2 separate regions of the Homo sapiens genome follow, and region 1 is linked to region 2. The links are contacts of gene promoters, found by promoter capture Hi-C in human tissues and cell types (Jung and others, 2019). All regions are on one chromosome and are shown on one strand. Each heading gives the region's core, a stretch centred on a gene start or on the middle of the fragment in contact. The rest is flanking DNA. Distances are from core to core; before and after follow the strand shown. Region 1 overlaps STMN1 (stathmin 1). Region 2 holds the start of HMGN2 (high mobility group nucleosomal binding domain 2).

Region 1 (5,634 bases), core at 49-2,548, 570 kb after region 2:
GCAGTGGCACGATCTCAGTTCACTGCAACCTCCACCTCCCGGGTTCAAGCAATTCTTCTGCCTCAGCCTCCCAAGTAACTTAGACTACAGGCACCCGCCACCACGCCCGGCTAATTTTTGTATTTTTAGTATAGGTAGGATTTCACCATGTTGGCCAGGCTGGTCTTGAACTCCTGACCTCAAATGATCCACCCACCTTGGCCTCCCAAAGTGCTGGGATTACAGGCGTGAGCCACCACACCCAGCCTGAATACATTTTAGAGTGCCTAGCCTATTAAACTTTTTTTTCCAGTCCCATGAAGCTGAGGTCTTGAAGCAGCTGGCTGAGAAACGAGAGCACGAGAAAGAAGTGCTTCAGAAGGCAATAGAAGAGAACAACAACTTCAGTAAAATGGCAGAAGAGAAACTGACCCACAAAATGGAAGCTAATAAAGAGAACCGAGAGGCACAAATGGCTGCCAAACTGGAACGTTTGCGAGAGAAGGTTGGTTTCTTACTTTGTAAAAGGGTTGAGCTTGGAGTTTGATGCACCAATGAGTTGGCTTGAACTAAGTGCTTTGATAAAAGGTGTTTGGTGTCTTTTTGTCATCCATTTTGGGGCTTAACATATTAAATGAAAGGTATATTTTAAGATGGAATATTCAGTAATTCCCAGCATAATTGCACAGTCCTTGGAAGTCCAGTAGGCAGCTTGTTAGGTTCTACAAGGGACCCAGGAGATTTGATGATGATGTCTCAGAACTTAAATTGTGTGGTTCCCACAGGCTGTAATATATGCACTGAGGTTGTGTTGGGCCTCTTTGAGGTGGGGGCTGGGGGTCGTGACTTGACAGGCTTTTTTTTTTTTTTTTTTTTTTGACTGATGACACCTTACCCTTCCTTTACAGGATAAGCACATTGAAGAAGTGCGGAAGAACAAAGAATCCAAAGACCCTGCTGACGAGACTGAAGCTGACTAATTTGTTCTGAGAACTGACTTTCTCCCCATCCCCTTCCTAAATATCCAAAGACTGTACTGGCCAGTGTCATTTTATTTTTTCCCTCCTGACAAATATTTTAGAAGCTAATGTAGGACTGTATAGGTAGATCCAGATCCAGACTGTAAGATGTTGTTTTAGGGGCTAAAGGGGAGAAACTGAAAGTGTTTTACTCTTTTTCTAAAGTGTTGGTCTTTCTAATGTAGCTATTTTTCTTGTTGCATCTTTTCTACTTCAGTACACTTGGTGTACTGGGTTAATGGCTAGTACTGTATTGGCTCTGTGAAAACATATTTGTGAAAAGAGTATGTAGTGGCTTCTTTTGAACTGTTAGATGCTGAATATCTGTTCACTTTTCAATCCCAATTCTGTCCCAATCTTACCAGATGCTACTGGACTTGAATGGTTAATAAAACTGCACAGTGCTGTTGGTGGCAGTGACTTCTTTTGAGTTAGGTTAATAAATCAAGCCATAGAGCCCCTCCTGGTTGATACTTGTTCCAGATGGGGCCTTTGGGGCTGGTAGAAATACCCAACGCACAAATGACCGCACGTTCTCTGCCCCGTTTCTTGCCCCAGTGTGGTTTGCATTGTCTCCTTCCACAATGACTGCTTTGTTTGGATGCCTCAGCCCAGGTCAGCTGTTACTTTCTTTCAGATGTTTATTTGCAAACAACCATTTTTTGTTCTGTGTCCCTTTTAAAAGGCAGATTAAAAGCACAAGCGTGTTTCTAGAGAACAGTTGAGAGAGAATCTCAAGATTCTACTTGGTGGTTTGCTTGCTCTACGTTACAGGTGGGGCATGTCCTCATCCTTTCCTGCCATAAAAGCTATGACACGAGAATCAGAATATTAATAAAACTTTATGTACTGCTGTAGCAACTCCTGTGAAATGACTAAAGGGAACCTTAATTATTTCTAAAGTAGCATTTGACTCGGGTGGTTAAGGTTGGCAGATACGTCATCTTGTATCCAGAGGCTGTAATAGTCCCCATTGTCAGTGCTTTGCCTCTCAATTCAGGGAACGCCTTTGGCAGCTTTCCTGTGCTATTTGAGAAATAGCCTAATTATACATATTTTGTGCCTCTCAGACATCTGTATAAAAGCTCTTGGAAGCCAAGCACTTATAGCAAAAGATGATTGCTAATACTGCGGTGGGGTCCATGTGTTGCTAACGCATGTGCCTCTGCTGCTTGGGCTGTATCTTGAGATTGGGGTTTTACCAAACTTATTCATGAGAACAATAACAGCCTACCTCAACTTACCTCCTAAGATTGTTAGGATTAAATGGGTTTGTGGCAAGAGAGCACACTTAGAACATAGATATTTAGCATTCCGTATAAATCACGATTACTGTTTTCAACCAGAGGCTAATGAGTGATCTAAGTTTATACTCTTGAGTTGGAAATTATGCAGTTTTTATATTCCTTAAATTGACTTTTAAATTTACTTAAATGATCAATCAGAGGAATTCTGAACAAAGCTTGGTTTAAGGAGTTACGCCCATGTAGGGCAAATAGGAGCAAGTGCAAGTATAGTTGAATACAACAATAGGTTCTGAGCAATATCTAAACCAAGAGGACAGGATGAGGCTTGTGTGCAGTGGTGCAGCACAGTTCATCTTGGCTCCTGTCTCTGGCACATAGCAGGTGCTCTGGGATCTTTAAAATACCAGTTCTGAATAGATGGGAATATAAAGAGGGCCTGAGGGTAGAAACTTGGCATAATGATACGAGGTGTCCTACAAGTGGCAGTGAGCTTTTGTTCATCTAAGACATTTAGGGAGGGAAACTGGCCTCAGGAGAAAGCAAGGGAAGGATCAACAGGCCTGAAAGGATGCCTCATCAGTTACCACCCATCCCATGGTGGCCCTGACTTCCTATCAGAGGGCGATCCTGAGCCCCTGCCTTGTGACAGGCTTAAGTCACAGGAAACTGAAGGGGATGCATCTTACCACAGAAATAGAAGCTCTGGCTTTTCTATTTCACCTTGACCTTTGGAGAAGCACTTAGTCCTGGGCCCCCATTTTCTCCTGGATAAAATGAGATGGTTGGGGGAGATCAGTTAAGTAACTTTCACTCCCCCATTCTTTGCATCTGGCTTGGAGTGAAGAGGAGGAGCGGTGGCACCTACGAGCTTCTGGGGAAGTGTCTCTGGGTATGCATTCCCGGGCCCGGCATTCTCTGCCATCACGGGAGTCTGCGTCTGTCCCAGTGGGGCCAGCCTCTCCCAGCAGTACTTCCAATAGATTGGCCTAATAAGGCCAGAGTGGTTTGACAAGCAGTTGGGGCTGTCACCAAGGAGCAGACTCCATTCCTTTTGTCTTGAATGGAAAATGAGGCTTGTCCCTTCCTGAGGATTTTGTACTTGGGCCTTATGGTTGACTGGGCTCAGTGGAGAGAGGTTTGAAGGACGTGAAGGAGGCCCTTAAATTAACATTTGACAAGCACCTAGATTGTGCTCCACACTGGCCTTTGCGCTAGGGATGGAGAAAAGATGGGGTGGGACCAGCATATCACGTGCCCATGTGAGGGGAAGGAGAGCTGTAGAATGCTTACTTACCTGAGGGTGAGGCTCTCGACCACATACTTGTACTCACCAGGGTGCTTTAGTGCTTTGGTGAAAGGAGTGACCACAGAGGGCTTTGTGGTCTGGGAAGCTTTGAGAGGAGAAAGGACATGAGCTTGTCCTTTTGGAAGTCAGATGAACCTTCCAAGCCAAACCCCAATAAAGCACTTAATTGTTAAACACTTAGTAAGCCTGTGATTGCCACGTGCACAGAGAACCTGCCATAGTTAATGGCCTTTGGCAGGCCCTCCAGGCAGGCCCCCTCCCCATTTTTTTATTCTAAGCAGTGGAGGCTCTTTGAAGGCTTTTGAATGTGGGGGGCTGCAGTGGTCAGTAACAAAACCATTTTAAGGAAGAGAAAGTGGAGGCAGGGTGAGTTGACTGGAGAGTGGCTGCCGTTCAGGCTACGGTGGCCATGGTGGCTGTTGGGGCAGCACAGGGATGAGGTGGGAGGGCCTGCTGGGCTCTGGAGCAATCCATGTGACTGACACTGCACTGAGGAACTGGGACATGTGCTCTAAACTTGGGAAGCTGGAGGAGAAAGAAATCACTCCACTTGGGAAAATGGCAGTGCTACTATTTACTGAGCACTTAACGTCCAGGCATCGTGTTCATTTTCTCCACCATAGAGAAGTGAACAGGCAGAGTAACGTACCCAAGGTCCTAAGCTAGTAGGAGAAGCTTACCCAGGCAGATCTGCTCTAAGCCCTGCACAGGAAGGGGGGCTGCTCTGACAGCTCAGCATCCCCTCGTTGCCCGGAACAATTCCCCTCTGCCTCAGACCTGCTCACAAGTCTCAGCAAATGAAAGCCCTACTATTCAGCCGTTCCCACCTCCTTAAAAAGGCAGGGCCTCTTATCCTTGCATGCCTTGGAGTGAGGTCTCATCCCCCACCCCCAGCACCTTTATAAAGGTGCTCCTGTCTACTCTGTATCATTCTCCCAGTGGAGAATTCTGATTTTCAGTGATGTTTTAGCTGTCCCGGTAAACCTGTGCACCCAGATGACAGTTTGGCTACCTTACTGCGAATTCATTTGTTTGAATCACTGTTAAATGTGGTTCATTTAGGAATACAGAAGATAAAGGCCAAATTTTTTCTTTTCTTTTTTTTTTTTTTTCGAGACAGTCTTGCTCTGTTGCCCAGGCTGGAGTGCAGTGGCACGATCTTGGCTCACTGCAACCTCCGCCTCCCCAGTTCAAGCGATTCTCCTGCCTCAGCCTCCCAAGTAGCTGGGATTACAGGCGTGCACCACCGTGCCTGGCTAATTTTTGTATTCTTAGTAGAGACAGGGTTTCACCACGTTGGCCAGGCTGGTCTTGAACTCTTGACCTCATGATCTGCCTGCCTCAGCCTCCCAAAGTGCTGGCATTACAGGCATGAGCCACCGCGCCTGGCAAGGCCAAGTTTCTTATAGAAAAGCTTCCCCCTTTGGATGGAGGTTGGACTTAGATGCCCTAGAAGTTCCCTTCCAAATCCAAGACTGATTCTCTACAGGGTTGGATTGCAGACCACCTGAGATCAGAGACCATGTCATAGACACAGAGCTGAACTCCAAGGACCCAGACACATTGCTGGTGAGCCAAGTCTCTTGACACTTGCCTCCTCCCTTTTTGCCCAGGTGAAACGAAGGTCCAAAATGTCCCTGTGGCTGAGGCCTCTGCCAGCAGAAGCTGGTATTCTGTACTTAAGGGCGTAGGAAAGGGTTTCTGACTTGTTTCGTACATGCACTTAGATTTTTAAAACTTAGTTGTAGGGTTTGATGAGCTCCAAAATGCAGCAGCTTCATGGAAGGGCTCTGGTTCATAGTTAGAAAGGCCTGGCCTGCTTCCATCGTGGCCAAGAGCAGAGCAGTACCTGCCCAGTCCTTGGGCACCATATCCTACTGAGACAAGTAGGCTGCTGAAATTGGATCCATAGGAAGAAAAAACAGACAGGAAATGAGCCAGCTACCTCATAGCAGCCATCTCAGCAGAAAAGGACTGAGCCTCTCCTGGGCCTGGAGCTTCCAATCCCTGTGGCCTCCTGCTCCCCTCACTGGCAGAAAGCCCCAGTATTCACTGGGATGGGGAAGTCCCCATGCTAAGCCTA
Region 2 (5,557 bases), core at 2,180-4,679:
TTTCAAACTCCCTTCTTCAATGGACTACCAAAAATCAGAAAGCCACTATAAAACCCAATGAAGTCTTCATCTGATGCTCTGAACAGGGAAAGTTTAGAGTGAGGGTTGACATTTCACATTTAGCATGTTGTTTAACAACTTTTCACAAGCCGACCCTGACTTTCAGGAAGTGAAATGAAAATGGCAGAATTTATCTGAAGATCCACAATCTAGAAATGGAACCACTGCTCTTTTGACAGGTGCCATCTCAGTGGCATCACTGGAAAGTCCAGATTGCCTGACACACTGGTAACCAATGACTAGGGGTCAGGTCTCAACAGATGTCTGGGCTTAAGGGAGTTAAGTCTATGCTGAACGATGGAAAGGGAGAAGAGGACATAAAAACAAATTTGTTTTTCTATACCACAAGGCTTTTGTGCCAAGGTGGCCATGTGTGTCAAAGTCAGGGAATCCCTCCTCCTGGGAGCCAAGAGGAAGTCTCTCAAAACTAGAAGGGAAAGGTGTTTTCTCCACATCAATCCAGCTTTGGAGACATTCTATTAGTGACATATGCCCCTTCCCCCAAAAACAACAATGAAGTGTTCTGTGTGCTAACAACATAGCTTTTAAAAAAAAAAAAAAAGTAAAACAAAATTCTGCATTTTTATAAAACTTGATAAAAAATAGTATTTCAAACTGTACAGTCACCAGAAGTACACAGTTATCAAAAATGCACACACTTCACTTGGCATCTCCAGCACCTTCAGCTTTCTGTGCCTAAAAGAAAACAGACAAATTAATGCAATGCGTAGATTTCAAAACTATCTGTGTTCACATTCCACCTACAGCATCACTTTGCTCCCAGGCCAAAGTTCAGGTTTCAGGTACTGAGACTCAGTATTTCTTCTGAGAATGACTTACTAGGTAACTTTGCTAAGTCACCTCTCCTCTGGGCCTCACTGTAAAATTGAGGTAGGAAGAACACCAGAATAAGAGACCTGAGGTTACTCCTAGCTTGAAAACTTCATGTAGTATAAAACACAATGCCCTTCAGCTGACAGTAGAGATTTCAAGAATCCAGGATTTAAGTTAACAGGAAAGCCACAAGCACACTGGACCAAATGGTACATTTGGAGTGATACAAGAAAAGGGCAATTAAATTTTTGATATCAGCAACTAACTGAATGAACAAATCTAACAAAGGGTGAAACAGCAGTTATACCTGGTCTGTTTTGGCATCTCCATTTTCTGCAGGGTTATTCCCCTCCTTGCCAGCATCAGCTTTTCCCTTTTTCCCTTTGGGTACCTTCTCTCCCTTCTGAAAAAGGGGAAAAAATAGAACTGTTTCTCCCCATTTCGTATTACCAAGGTATGGTCTGCAAAGTTCTGCACAAGGTAGGATTGTTTACTCAAGATAAAACACAAACCCTCACCCATTTGACAAGAACAACTGATCAAAACTAGGCTAAATTATCTGTAATTTGCTATAATCTTTAGTACTTAGAATTTCCTAAGTAACAGAAGAATAAATTAGTTTAAACCCTGGGGTATTTAATATTTAAATGCAGATTTTCCTATAAACTAACAACAGAATTCTTGATCAGGAAACCAACGTTATGAATGACACGGACGAGGTAAGCTATCCACACAGTTTATAACCTCCATTAATGGAGGCACCATTATGCTAATTAAGTTAAGGCACTAAGGACAGTCCTCATTCTGTGAAAATGATCAGTTCCAATGTTAGCACTTACCTTTGCAGGGGCCTTTTTAGGCTTGGGCTCTGGCTTTGGAGGAGCAGGTTTCTTTTTTTGGCAGGAAGAGAGGAAAAAGTGAACATCAGTACAATGGACTGAAGAAAACCACCCACAACCAACCAAAAGTACCAAGGGTAGAGAAGTTTCTCCTCCTCCTCAAAAGTTTTTGTGGTTGGCTTTCTTCTAGAATGTTGGATTTCCAGAAGCCCACTCAAATGTCCCACTTTGGCTACAGGCATCAGAATTTCAGAACCAGCAAAACCCAAAGGGGCAAGAGTCCCAAGTAGAGGCAATGATTCAAAACCAGGCACTAACCATAATTCATGGAAGCAAAGGGAATTGTTTTTTGATGTTTTTTAGTTTCAGGGACAAGCACGAAAATTCAAAAGCATACACTTACAGCAGACAACCTCGCGGATCTTCTCTGTGGCTATTAAAGACAACGAGAAAGTTAGAAATAGGACAGGTAAGTCGCTTTGAAAGTTTGGTATCAATTTGCTCTAGATTATAGGAGTGTAAATTCAGGACACAGGTTACGGTTAATCACCGAGTCCAGTGGCCTCTGCTAGTCCAAGGCTTTGACCCTTGAAGAGAGAATGACTTACTTCGTCCTTCACCTTTGCTTTATCTCCCTTAGCATCCCCTTCAGCCTATAAGAAACAAGAACAAAAAACTGCAGATTTTGAGGTGGTTCTTAATTACTTCCCAAACTTTAGAGTGCTAAAAATGAAAATTAAAGCAGTCGTCCACACAACTTTTCTAGGACATAAATGAGTGAGCCCGACGTTCGTATAAGAACGAAGCGCGCGCAGGAGCTCCGGCTCGCCGACCCCGAGAAGCGAGGGCTGGACCGGAGCGCAGCCGGGGAGGGCAGCGGAGCCCGCACCACCGCGACAGGCAGGAGCAACAGCTGCAGATGGCGCAAACAAACCCCCTCCGGAGGCGGAGCCCAGCGCCGTTGCTATGGCAGCCGTCGAGGGCGGGAGAGGGAGGCGCGCGCAGCCCGGGGAACTCGTGGGCGGCGACAGCGCGCGTCTCGTGCGCGGGGAACGTGGGCGAGGGGGCGGGGCCATACCGCACAAGCCCCGCCCCTCACGGCGGCGGTTTTTTGGCGGCAGCGCTTTCCCCCGCCCGCCAACCCCGAGCGCCGCCTTCCCGCCCTTTCGGGTTTGAATTGCCCGCCCGCAGGGAGGGGAGGGAAGGGGCCCTCGCGATGGGGGAGGGGGCACGGGGCGGGGGCGGCGAGCCCGAGGAGAGCGGGATAAACAGCCGCCAACATGGCTCCTCCCGCCGCGGCCGCCGCTCCTCCAATATGGCCTCTGGCGCCCGCGGGCAGCCGAGCCGCTCAGGGTTAGCCCCGAGCTGCCCGACACCGTCTCCAGCCCCCGCGCGGGGAGGCTGCGCTGGCTCCTGCTCGGCGCCGATTCTCGCTCCCTGCACCAGGGAGGCGGCGGCGGCGGTGGCGGCAGTGGTGGCCCGGCGCCTGGGGCCCTCGCGCCACGTACCTTTCTCTTGGGCATGGTGGCGGCGGCGACGGCAGCGGGACGTAGGTGCTGGACGCGGGATGCAGCGGCGCGCGGGCTTTGGTCGGTCCGGGGGTCGTTCTCGCCTCTTCTTCACACTGCTCGGGCTCCGGGGGGTTTATAAAGTTTTTATAGCGCTGGGAGCCCCGGACCGGTTAGAACCGGATTTCACCTCCCGCCGCCGTTCATTGGCCCAGCTGGGGTCACGTGGGCGGGGTTTAAACTCACCTCCTCTGGAGGGAGTGAGGAGGGGGGTGTGTGGGGGGGGTAGTGCGCGGAGACGGCGGCGCGCCGAGGGGGTGGGGGCGCAGTCGGGGTGGCGCGCGTCGAAGGCAGTAAATGAGGAGGGGTGCGCGAGTCGGCGGGCTCCGGGTTCCGGCTCCCGCCAAGAGCTGTCTTTTGCAAACTAGCAAGTTCCTTCCACCTTATGCAACCCAGCAACCCACTTCTCCAAGCCGTGCGACACTCACGGCGCATCTCAGCGGCTTTCCTTCCTGCTCCCGCTGGGGGCCCCAGAAGAGGGGTTTGCGAGGCCTGGCTGCACTGCCCTGCTCCTCTGGAAGCAGGAGGAAGCGCGCGGCTGGAGGCACAGGCTGCAGTTCCCAGAGCCCAGGCTGACGCCAAAGTGGGAAAAAGGCGGGGAAACCAGCTTGGCGCAGCCGGACGTGCATCCTTCCGAGCTGCCACTTCGGAGAAGCCTTTCGTGCACCTCACCTGAAAGACGGTCCCACTCGAGGTGGGCTAGGGGTTTCAGGGGGAGACTTTCCATGCAGAGGTGCCTTTTGGGTGCCGTGGGTCAGGTAGGAGCTGTCCTTTCAGCACCCGTTGCGCAGCCGCCTCCCCAAATGCTATCGAAGCCCCCACCCCCAACTCCTCTCGGGTGGCTCCCTTAAGGTCCCTGTATTCCCAAACCTCCAGACCCCGCCACAGTATGGTGGAGAGCGGCCGTCGAGGTCTACCAGCACTCACTTCCCCCTACACTCTACCCCTCTCGGAGACATTTTGCCCAGCTGCCCAACCCGACGCGGCCACCAAGCCTGGGCACTGCAGCCGCAGCTGGCGAAATCCCTCCTTCCACACTGTCAAGCTGGCTGCCTTTCACTTGCGCGAGGAAAGGAGGGTGGAGGAAAGCGCCCGGGGATTAGGAAACAAGTAGAGGAACAGGTGGTGTGATGGCAAAAGGGCTCTTCCGGTGCCCCCTAGTCCAAAGCCAGGGTCTTGGAGCTAGCCAAGTGCACCTGAGGGAGGGTAGGCAATTGCAGCAGCAAAAGAAGGTGTTCTTCCGTTGCAGTTAGCAAACAAGTTTTACATCTAAGAATCTTTAAAAATTCTATTTGAGACCCAGCACACAAGAATACGATAGATGTCCTCAAATGGGGGCTTGGCTCACAGGTGGAAGGACACTAAATTGGTCCCATCTGATTTCTTGAGGCAAGGGTTGAACCTGGCTTGCACAAATCACACCTGTCCAAAGCAACCACGAGTTCTACTATTTTGCAGCCCTTGCTGCTGGGCGACGACGACGACCTCTCTGCCTCTTCTTTCCACCACTACATCGCCTCCTGGGGCAGCTTCTCCCTACTCCACCCTGTGTACCTTTCCCAGAATACAGAACCTCAGGCCAAAGAGAGATGCCAGCCCCATTAATCACCTCTACTGTACCCCAATCATATTACGGAAAGTCAGACCCAGGAGACAGGACTCAACAGCCACGCTCATAGGGCAGATTCCGTTTGCTGCCTCCAGCCCCTCATTCCCGCCTTAATTGTAGGGCTCTGCATTATAGCCGCATAATTCATGCCTCCCTAATTATGGCTGTCAACAGCCCCATTGTAAAGCTGTAAAATGTACAGCACCTGCTCTCCAGGAACCCTGTGCCAGGGATTGGTAGAGGGGAGTGCCAGGTGTGGATGGGGGCTTTGCCAAAGGGTTCACTGATTGGCTTCTCAATCGCCGTGTCTGGCATTTATGCTTGATTCTGGGAGCATGGACAATAGCCAAGAAGTCTCTTGCCGCCAGGTATCCCGGGACAGAAAGGGGAAGAGGCGGGTGGGGTATAGGAAAGTTAGGGGTTTCCTGTGTGCTCTTGCTACAACTTGCAAGATTTCACCTCTCCCCTAGAGGGAGCTGCTAGGGAAACAGCTTGCAGAAAGTAAAATGGGAAGTCTGGCATGGTGGCTCATGCCTGTAATCCCAGCACTTTGGGAGGGTGAGGCCGGCGGATCACCTGAGGTCAGGAGTTCGAGACCAGCCAGGACAGGGTGAGATGCTGTCTCCAAAAAAAAAAAAAAAAAGAAG

Evidence for each region. The method cuts DNA at HindIII sites, captures the fragments that hold promoters and counts their contacts. A contact is called where the count stands out against the background at its distance.
Region 1: a fragment that was not itself captured here is called in contact with the fragment with the promoter of HMGN2 in region 2 in 1 of the 25 tissues and cell types used here (dorsolateral prefrontal cortex).

The regions. Positions count from the first base shown.
Region 1 is chr1:25,896,341-25,901,974 of GRCh38, reverse strand. STMN1 (stathmin 1) reads left to right here. Exons shown (of 5, transcript NM_005563.4): 4 at 293-484; 5 at 888-1,859. The coding sequence ends at 959. Among named protein-coding and RNA genes, the nearest start is that of STMN1, 7.3 kb to the left of the region's middle. The HindIII fragment of the contact is 6,597 bases long and covers 1-4,596 here.
Region 2 is chr1:26,470,312-26,475,868 of GRCh38, reverse strand. It overlaps HMGN2 (high mobility group nucleosomal binding domain 2), which reads right to left and starts at 3,429. Exons shown (of 6, transcript NM_005517.4): 1 at 3,242-3,429; 2 at 2,342-2,386; 3 at 2,137-2,166; 4 at 1,734-1,784; 5 at 1,202-1,297; 6 at 1-756. The coding sequence starts at 3,256. The coding sequence ends at 721. DHDDS (dehydrodolichyl diphosphate synthase subunit) reads right to left here. Exons shown (of 9, transcript NM_205861.3): 9 at 4,563-5,557. RefSeq lists silencers at 2,705-2,874, 2,915-3,204, 3,465-3,734, 3,619-4,034 and enhancers at 3,404-4,113, 4,114-4,822. The HindIII fragment of the contact is 14,054 bases long and covers 1-5,557 here.